3 separate regions of the Homo sapiens genome follow, and all the other regions are linked to region 2. Evidence: promoter capture Hi-C in human tissues and cell types (Jung and others, 2019). All regions are on one chromosome and are shown on one strand. Each heading gives the region's core, a stretch centred on a gene start or on the middle of the fragment in contact. The rest is flanking DNA. Distances are from core to core; before and after follow the strand shown.

Region 1 (3,666 bases), core at 390-2,889, 130 kb before region 2:
ACTCTTAACACCAATAACATAGCTATAGTGTAACTCAAGTTGGAGTATGACTATGACTATTAAATACAGCTTATAAAAAATCATTTCCATCCTATAATGAAGGAAAGAGTAAATCATACAGTAAATATTTTATAGTAAAAACCAAAGGGATGGCTACAAATCATTTCAATTAAACACACATGAAATATAATTAGGTTTTTTTAATTGACTTCACCTGATAAAAGGCAGCCAATCCTTCTGTCTGTCATCAAACGTTTCTTTACAGCATTATTAAAAAGGATCCTGAGGTTGTTCTTCACAGTTTCTATCTCAAAACCTATAAACACAGCAGTAAATCAAACAGCTCCAGAAAATCTTGGGCTGGATTAGTTATTGAAATGAAATACACAATCATCAACATCTATCATGATGGTATTTACTCAATGGTGGAGTGTGCCAAATCTTAATGTGTTCCCTCCAAACAAAATAGGAAGTAGGTCTTGAAACTAAAATCATTCAAATGATGGGAGAATACAACTTAAAATTTTTTTCCCTTGGAGAAGGATGGGGAATAGGTGGGTGGGTGTCTGCTACCTGGAAAGAGTTTCTCCACATTGTCATAGAGGGCGTGCAGGGGTACATCCCGACAGTGATGATATTTAACCATTTCCACGGATGCAACTTTGCCATTTGGCTTTAAATCCAAAACTTCATAGTGTCCAGGAAGAAAAGGCTCCACTTTTAAAAAGGGAGTCGCGGAGTGCTTCAATGTAACAAGACCTAGAAATTCACAATGATACCTTTATTCAAATTAGGTAACCCTTCCCAATAACTTTCACGATTAGTTAACATCATCTACATTCCTATTTTCCCTTTTTAATACAAACACATACCCATTAAATAAGCAAAATAGGAAAAAAAATTTTCTATTTTCCTAAGCCCTACCATCTACTTACCTGAGAGACAATAATGGCACAGGGATATACTGCCAAATTACACTAACTTTTCGTAATTCAAAGAAATAGAAAAATCTCCAGTGTTCAATTTCTTCTTCTTAGATTTCTAATCAAGAAAACCTATTTTCTATACTAAAGCAAATACACAAAAGGAAAAGACACACTTATGAAGCAAAGGGATGAACTGGAGTCCTAATGTTATGATAGGCTGGGAGTCATTTATTTGTCATCACTGAGGTATTTTCAGAACACAGCCATGGTTCCCAGACCTTTAACAAGTACAATGATCCACTTTTACCTACTTTAAAGTCAGATAAGAAGACATCTATCCCTTAACTAGTTGTTATACACTATATGTGAATAAAACCATATAACTTAAATTTCCTCAATAAATTCTCACAGACAGTACAGTACCCAACCTCTCATCACCATGATCTTTGATACAAACATCAATGTTTTATTGTAGATCGTAATGGACTATCTACATGGAATACTCGTGATTTACAATTTGAGATTGTCTACCCAGCCAGTAACCTGTGTAGCACTGAATTCAAATACCAGAAAAAGGACCCAGATTCCCTCACCAGCCAGCAGAGCTCAAGTGAGCTACACAACCCGGATAGGGAATGGGGAGTAATTAAAAGGTTTTAAGCAGGCAATACTATAATCAGATGAGATTTTGACAGGTTATTCTAAAAGCACTGAGAAAAGAAAATTGTTGCAGTATTCCAGATGAGATAATTTGGTCTGGAAAAGGACAGTGTCAAGGATATAGAAAAGAACAATTAAGGAATTTCAGAGGGTAAGTTCCATATCAAGTGATCATCAGGCTCAAAGAAGGCCCAGGGGAGCAGGAGGCTGCTTTTCCCCAGTGTTCTCTTTACCAGGCTTTCCCAGCAGTCCTGGCAACTGACATATATATATGCTTGTTCTTTGCCATCTGATCACACTAGAAATGCCTGAAAATAAGCCAGTTCCAGTATTAGTACAAACACTGTGACTAGTGTCCTAAGGACCCCTTTGATTGATCTCATTATCCCTGCTTCAGCCAATATTAAATCTGAAAATTAAGTGAGAAAGAATTTAAAGAATGGCAAAAAGAGGCAGGGAGAGAGATATTAGGATGTTACTGCTGCACAGGTAAGGGATAAAAGATAAATGTCTTCCTCAAGTTTACCATCAAAAAGTGCTATGCATGATTTGCAAGTATTTTCTTCCAACTTGTGGGCCGTCTTTTCACTTTCTTGATGGTGTCCTTTGATGTGCAAAAATGTTTAATTTTGATGAAGTCCAATTCATTGATTTTTATTATTGTTGCTGGTCTCATATTTAAGAAAGCTTTGCCAAATCCAGGGTCATGACAATTTACTTCTATGTTTGCTTCTCGGGATTTTATAGTTTTAGCCCTTACATTTAAGTGGATTAGTTCAAAACTGATTCATTTGATCCTTTTTTTTTTTTTTTTTGAGATGAGTCTCGCTCTGTCACTCAGGCTGGAGTGCAGTTGCGCGATCTCGGCTTACCGCAAGCTCCGTCTCCCGGGTTCACGCCATTCTCCTGCCTCAGCCTCCTGAGTAGCTGGGACTACAGGCGCCCGCCACCACGCCCGGCTAATTTTTAGTAGAGACGGGGTTTCACTGTGTTAGCCAGGATGGTCTCGATCTCCTGACCTCGTGATCCACCCGCCTCGGCCTCCCAAAGTGCTGGGATTACAGGCATAAGCCATCGCGCCTGGCCTGATCCATTTTTCTGTATCCATAATTTTTGTATACGATGTTGGGTAAAGATTCAACTCCAAGTTTTGCATATGGTTACATATCTGGTTGCCCCTGTGCCAGTTTTCAAACTTCTTTCTCCACTGAATAATCTTGGCACCCTTGTCAAAAATAAGTTGATCATATATGTATGGGTTCATTTCTGACTCTCAATTCTATCCCACTAGTCTATACATCTATCCTTCTGTCAGTATTATATTGTCCTTATTACCATTGTCTTGTAGTAAGTTTTAAAATCAGTTAATATGAGGTCTCCTACTTTGTTCTTCATTTTCAAAAGATTGTTTTGGCTATTCTTAGTCTCTTGCAATTCCATATGAATTTGAGAGTCAGCTTGTAGATTTCACAAAGAACTCATCTGGGATTCTGATAGGGATCAAGTTAAATCTGTAAATCAGTTTAGGGAGGACTGCCATCTTAACAATGTTAAGCCTTCAAATCATGATCATGGGATACTTTTCCATTTATTTAGATCTCCTCTCATTTCTTTCAACAACATTTTATAGTTTTCAGAGTACAAGTTTTACACTTCTTAAATTTATTTCTAAGTATTTTATTCTTTTTGATGCTATTATAAATGAAGTTGCTTTCTTAATTTCATTTTGATTGCTCATTTTAAGTATGTAGTATTCAGTTAAAGTGTGTCAAATACCATTGATTTTTGTATATTCATCTTGTATCCTGCAACCCTGATGAACAGAAGGGATTTGTATCTAGAATACATAAGGAACTATTACAATTCAGTAATAAAAAGACAAAATAACTCAATTAGAAATGGGTAATTCAAGAATGGATAAACAAATTGCATTGCATGCAAACAAATGGAATATTATTCAGCAAGCACACCAACATGGCACATGTATACATATGTAACAAACCTGCACGTTATGCACATGTACCCTAGAACTTAAAGTATAATAATAATAATAATAAATGAGCTATCAAGCCATGAAAAA
Region 2 (3,277 bases), core at 1-2,500:
TTTTGAGACAGAGTCTCACTCTGTCGCCAGGCTGGAGTGCAGTGGCGTGATCTCGGCTCACTGCAACCTCTGCCTCCCAGGTTCAACTGATTCTCCTGCCTCAGCCTCCCGAGTAGCTGGGATTACAGGCATGCACCCCCATGCCCAGCTCATTTTTGTATTTTTAATAGAGACAGGGTTTTGTCAGGCTGGCCAGGTTGGTCTTGAACTCCTGACCTCAAGTGATGCACCGGCCTTGGCCTCCCAAAGTGCTGGGATTACAGGTGTGAGCACCACACCTGGCCCTTCAGTGATTTCTTGCTTTCATGTTTAGTAGGTTTCTTTTGTCTTACAGAAGTGTAATCGTGTGCTCAGATCCCAGATCTCTATAATTTTAGTTATCTAATAAATAGTAGTTTTCTTCTCTGATTCCATGAATTTTCCAGCCAAGCTCTTATTTACTTATTTATTTATTTATTTATTTATTTATTTAGAGACAGAGTCTCACTCTGTCGTCCAGGCTGGAGTGCAGTGTAGCGATCATAGCTCACCACAGCCTCAACCTCCTGGGCTTGAGTGATCCTCCTACCTTAGTTTCCAGAGTAGCTGGGACCACAGGCACATGCCACCATGCCCCGCTAGTTTTTATTTTTATTGTTATGTTGTAGAGATGGAGTCTTGTTATGTTGCCCAGGCTGGTCTCAAACTCCTGGGCTCAAACAGTCCTCTCACCTTGGCCTCCGAAAAGTGTTGGGATTACGGATGTGAGCCACCATGCCTGGTCTACATTTTTTTTTTTTTTGTAGACAGAGTCTACAAAAAAGGCCGGGTTCAAGCAATTCTCAGCCTCAGCCTCCCGAGTAGCTGGGATTACAGGTGCCCACCACCACGCCTGGCTAATTTTTTTGTATTTTTATTAGAGATGGGGTTTCACCATCTTGGCCAGGCTGGTCTCAAACTCCTGACCTCGTGATCCACCCACCTCAGCCTCCCAAAGTGCTAGGATTACAGGCGTGAGCCACTGCGTCTGGCCGCCTGGCCTACATTTTGATTTTGTGTTGCCTCGCTGGAGGGGCAAAGCTGTGAGGAAATCCCACCCCCGCCCCACGTCCCCTCTACCTTGGCATTCCTGGAGCGCTGCTGCAATGTCATCAGCACTGAGCACGTCCGTGATGCTCATTTTCTACCTACTCACACAGAATAAACGAGAGGCGATAAGCCACAAACAGGAACGTGCACATCCAGGGGAAACACATCTTCCCAGGCCCACTGAAACTGTATGTGTGTCTAGATTTTTTTTTTTTTTTTTTTTGAGATGGAGTCTCACTCTGTCACCCAGGCTGGAGTGCAGTGGCACAATCTTGGCTCACTGCAACCTCCACCTCCTGGGCTCAAGTGATTCTCCTGCCTCAGCCTTCCGAGTAGCTGGGATTACAGGTGCGCACTACCAGGCCTGGCTGATTTTTGTGTTTTTAGTAGAGATGGGGTTTTGCCATGTTTGCCAGCCTGGTCTCGAGCTCCTGACCTCATGTGATCTGCCTGCCTTGGCCTCACAAACTGCTGGGATTACAGGCATAAGCCACCAAGCCAGGCCTGTCTAGAATTTTTAAAATGTGATAAGCATGGTTTTGTATTAAGTGACGGGACAGAATATCCAAATTAAAACCAGATACCAAAAAGACCCCAGCCCTTTTTGTCTCAGAGCCTTCTTTTGAATATATGCCAAAAATGAAAAAAAAAAACATGACCCAAAGAAGGATTCAATTGTTTTCTTATAAAAATTATACTGACATAATCAGTCATTTGCATAGGCAGCCGTAAACCATGTTACAAATGCACTGGCATTTTCCTACAGCAGTCCGAGAGATGCACTGTTGCAAATTCCACGTGGGAAAGGATACAGTTTGGGCTGCTTGCAGACATTCTGTGGAAGAAGACATGCTACCTGTCCTGAAAGGTGGGAAGCAGATGGATGAAAAGCCCATCTCCCAGAGATTAAAATCCTTCCAGATGTCAGAGCCATGGGAAAACAGGAGTCTAAGCACCTGAGCCTAATATGAATGCATGCAGTGAAGAAGAGTCTGGGGTCTGATGGGTCCACCAGTTACTCACCGTTTTAGGTTTTCCCCCAGGAAGAATCAGGAAAAAGAGTTGAAGGAGCAAAACAACAGATGTGCTTTTGCTACCTTACTGACCTACCTTATATAGGCTAGAAAAAGTGATAGTTACAACCTCTTAGATTTCCTTTTCAAGGATCAAGTGGATGCAGCTCAAATGTCTTGTCCTACTCAGGAAACCTCTTTTTTTTTTCTATTTATGTCTCAAGGGAATGTGGGTGGGAATAGCCAATTGTAAAAACAACAACAACAACAACAACCTCAACAAACCTTAACTAAGGTTTCAATTCTGCAAACGAACCCTGTTGGCAAAGTGTGGAGAAGGTTCTAGAGCCTGGTAAGCTGGAGATGGTGGCCTGAACTAAGACAAACACATACAGGGTGCTCTGTAAGCTGAAAAGCTCCCCAGATGTTAGCAGGTACCGTTGGAGGCAGGCCTGTTTTCAGCTTTGGGAACTATGGATGTGTAAGGCTGACCTCAATCTGGAGTTGAAGACTCAAAGCCATTGTCACCAAGTGCACACACAGGACTCGTCCGGCACAGGAGACAGGGCTAAGTGACGTGATTTTCCTACAAAACTCTTGACTTTTACGTTTCCCAGCTATACCATAAATTGCACACACTCAAAAGGCAAAAAGGAGGAAATCAAACCAGCATCCCCAACCCCCAAAACTAACAAGTTCAGAAACAAATACTCTGAGGCTGAGGCCAGGACTAGACACCTCAAGATTTTGTTTCTGTTGTGACAGGGTCTTGCTCTGTTGCCCCGACTGGAGTGCAGTGGTACAATCTCAGCTCATTGCAGCCTTGACCTCCAGGCTCAAGCGATCCTCCCACCTCAGTCTCCCGAGTAGCTGGTACTACAGGCACACACCACCATGCCTGGCTAATTTTTTTAATATACATATTTTTTGGAGAGACAGGGTTTTGCCATGTTGCCTAGGCTGGTCTTGAACTCCTGGGCTCGAGTAATTCTCCCACCTCAGCCTCCCAAAGTGCTGGGATTACATGTGTGAACCACCACTCCTGGCCTTTTTTTTTTTTTTAATTTTCAGCAAACATTTATTGAGGCTTTATATGGCCAGCACTGTGCTAGACTCTTCTTTTTAATTATTGGGTAAAAACCACATTCCATAAAATATATAATCTCAACCATTTTTAAGTGTATGTATAGTACAAT
Region 3 (3,413 bases), core at 523-3,022, 190 kb after region 2:
CAACCCAAGAAGAGATGGAAAGACTGTAATCAGCCGAGTAGCTACACTGGGAAGGTGATTAAAGAGCTTTCATTTTAAAAGGCTCGAGGTCCAGAGGGTTTCATGGGTGTCCTCTGTCTGACCTTTAATGAACAGGTGGCTCCAGTGTATTTAAACTATTCCGGACCATAAAGAAGACGGAAATTTCTATAACTCATATCATGAATCCAACACAAGCTTAATAGCAAAAGATGACATAAAGAAATTATTGACGATTCTCCTGAATGAACATAGACACAAATACTAGCAAACTGCATGTAGCAGTGTGTGAATAAAACAATTAAGACTTATTCTAGGACTATAAGGGTAGATGTGTATTATAAAAATATGTCTACATAATTCATTCCATTGACAGAATAAAAGAGGAGAAATACATTATAGCAATAGATTGCAGAAACATCATTTAGTATAATTCAGCAGCTATTCTGTGTTTACATAGACTATGTAAACATATTCTCCTCTGATGGGAAACATTTCTTCCGACAGGAAAGGAAAGATACAACTTAAATATCATATGGACTAAGACTCAAAACTTTACCAAAACTTAATAGCAATATCATGCTATTGCTAAATGGCAAAATAATAAAGTCCTTTCAATTAAATGAGAAACCAGGCAGAGATGCCCACTATTTCTGTTACCTTCCAACATTTCTTTGGAGGTACTAGCTAATACAAACACAAACTATAAAATTATCAGTTTAAAAATAATAGGCCCAAGAAATAAGGGGGAAAAAAGAAAAAAATAATAATAGGCCAGGCACAGTGGCTCACACCTGTAATCTCAGCACTTTGGGAGGCCGAGGTGGGCAGATCACTTGAGGTCAGGAGTTTGAGACCAGCCTGGCCAACATGGTGAAATCCCATCTCTACTAAAAATACAAAAAAATTAGCCAGGCGTGGTGGCACATGCCTGTAATCCCAGCTACTTGGGAGGCTGAGGCAGGAGAATCGCTTGAACCCGGGAGGCAGAGGTTGCAGTGAGCTGAGATCGCACCACTGCACTCCAGCCTGCATGACAGAGCGAGACTCCATCTCAATAATAATAATGATTTACTGAATGCTTCCCACATGCCAGCTACTTTACACCAACTCTTAAGTGGTAGTGCTGGTTTTCCCGTCTGTGTTACAGGTCAGGAGACGCAGGCACAGACAGGTATACTGACTTGTTCAGGGTCGTGCAACTGGAAGCCAGCAGAGCTGGGATTCAAAGCTACACCGTCTGCCTCCAGATTTCACACTGTTAACCACCGAGCTACACCACACAATCATTGGAAAAGAAGAGAACATTGCCCTTCTTTACTGGTGCCATGGTGTTGGATGTTTAGAAAAACCAAGAAACTGTGCTTTTAAAAAATTAGAATTCATAAAAGAATTTGTTGTGGCTTTTTATAAGACAGTATACATAAGTCAGTAGTTTTTCTCTGTACAGGTGTAATTATGTACCCAGTAGTGAAGGTGGATAAAAACCATTTTATTCTGAATAATGCCAAAATTATAAATTATCTGGGTATATATTATGTGAGAAAGACACAGGACTGTATGAAGAAAACTATGAAATCTTATTGAAGAATGTAAAATAACATGTGGACACATGGAAAGATGCACCATGATTTATGGTGGGGAGGCCACACAAAAATGCCAGTTCACTCAAAGAATTCCCATTCGAATCTGAACAGGGTTTTTATTTATTTTTTATTTTTTTGAGACAGGGTCTCGCTCTGTCACCCAGGCTTGAGTGAGTGCAGTGGCACGATCATGGCTCACTTGCTTGGCCTTGACTTCCCAGGCTCAAGCAATCCTCTTGTCTCAGCCTCGCAGGTAGCTGGGACTATACATATGCACCATCAGTGGTGGACCCTATTCCAGCCAGAGGCGTTTTCCCTAGGGTGTAATAAGAATTTCACACCCTGTGGAAGAACTCTGTGTACCCAAATCCTAGCAGGTGCCTGAGATACACACAGCAGGCACTCAGTAAATGTACCATTGCCCAGCTAGCAAAGACTGACCTAATAAGCAGGGCAAACACTGTCAAAACTCTAGTATAAAGTTGCCTCTGTGTGCTTTATCGGAATCCTCTTGTTTTAATCCTCTCCTGGTACGTCTCCATCCCATCTTAGAGTGTTAAGTGCAGAGTCCCTTCGGAAGCTTAAGTCTTTGTGGCTGCCAGAGTCAGAATGACGTGACGAGCAGAGGGAGGCTTTGGAATTGAAGTTTTCATTCACCTCTCATCAGCTTTACCAGTATAAGCCTGGTTATTTCATCCTTCGGAGCTCTATCTCTTCTATAAAATGGGGATCGTCTTTAAAGCCCTGGAGTGCTGTTGTCAAGATGGAGATAAAGTATGCCAAGCTGCTAGAAGAATATTCAGTAACTTTCCGGTATTTTGCTTCCTGTCTGTGAACTCTTCTTATCAGGAATCCAGATTACTCGGGAAAGCATAAGTAGTTCACATAATAGAGGTGTGGATTATTTTGAAAATGCCTCCTGCGTGTTGAGTTTGCATTGGAGAACCCCGAAGACGCGCAAACTAGTCCTAGCGTGAGTGAGCAGCAAGCAGTGGTACTTCCTTGTGAATCGGGGTGGGAACCCTTCAGAACCGCGAGCTCCCACTTTCTGTCGATCGCTCTGCTCATGCGGCCCTGAGTCTCATGGTTACTGTGGTCTCAGTCACAGCAAGTGCTGCCAAGCTCAGGCGACGCTGCCAGAGCCTTCTGAGAGCCGGGCGGGGCTGGTGCCACTGGTAGCCTCATCCCTGGACCTGTTTTTCAACTTGAAGGGAGAGCAGACTGGCTGTGTGTTTGCATTTCCTGACAAAAGCAGCCATTGACGTCAAGAGTTCCCTCTGTTGTTAAGAAGTGACACCTGTGTGTTTTTCTTTAGCTTTGCACGTTATTGGGCTTCAGATAATATTTATTTTTACCAACTTTGGCCCAAATTGTATCATTACTTTGAATCTGTACAGCACTTTTATGTTTTCAAAACATTTCATGTATTTTTCAGTGTTACCCTTGCAACAGCCTTGTGAGTTAACCATTTCAAGTGCAACCTGTTGTTTCGTGAGGAAACTGAGGCTCCTCTGCTATGCATGTGACCAGCCCAGCATCACATGGTCTTGCAGCAGTGGAACTGAGATGAGCTCCTGGCCTCCTGACTGCCCAGGGCTCCCTCCCACTGCATTGTGGAGCCTGGGCACTTGGGGAGGAGTGGGGCAGGACCCAGTCCTGCCACTGTTTGCTTCCTCACCACCTCTGGGTTTCAGGTCATGAGAAGCATTGCCTTTTCCCCTGGGAACACCAGTTGCTTGCTTTCGAGTTTTATAATGAGAGCCAAGGACCTTCTGCAGGCGTAATTGTTCATCTTTTACCAAGCCTTTG

What was found. Contacts are between HindIII fragments. The study calls those that stand out against the background at their distance.
Region 1: a fragment that was not itself captured here is called in contact with the fragment with the promoter of OCM2 in region 2 in 1 of the 25 tissues and cell types used here (thymus).
Region 3: a contact is called between a fragment that was not itself captured here and the fragment with the promoter of OCM2 in region 2, in 1 of the 25 tissues and cell types used here (adrenal gland).

The regions. Positions count from the first base shown.
Region 1 is chr7:97,858,640-97,862,305 of GRCh38, forward strand. It overlaps ASNS (asparagine synthetase (glutamine-hydrolyzing)), which reads right to left. Exons shown (of 13, transcript NM_001673.5): 5 at 574-759; 6 at 215-316. It overlaps CZ1P-ASNS (CZ1P-ASNS readthrough), which reads right to left. Exons shown (of 19, transcript NR_147989.1): 11 at 574-759; 12 at 215-316. Among named protein-coding and RNA genes, the nearest start is that of ASNS, 12 kb to the right of the region's middle. The HindIII fragment of the contact is 7,001 bases long and covers 1-3,666 here.
Region 2 is chr7:97,988,946-97,992,222 of GRCh38, forward strand. OCM2 (oncomodulin 2) reads right to left here and starts at 1,251. Exons shown (of 4, transcript NM_006188.4): 1 at 1,099-1,251. The coding sequence starts at 1,159. The HindIII fragment of the contact is 22,202 bases long and covers 1-3,277 here.
Region 3 is chr7:98,175,773-98,179,185 of GRCh38, forward strand. All of the region lies in intron 7 of LMTK2 (lemur tyrosine kinase 2), which reads left to right. Among named protein-coding and RNA genes, the nearest start is that of BHLHA15, 34 kb to the right of the region's middle. The HindIII fragment of the contact is 5,724 bases long and covers 1-3,413 here.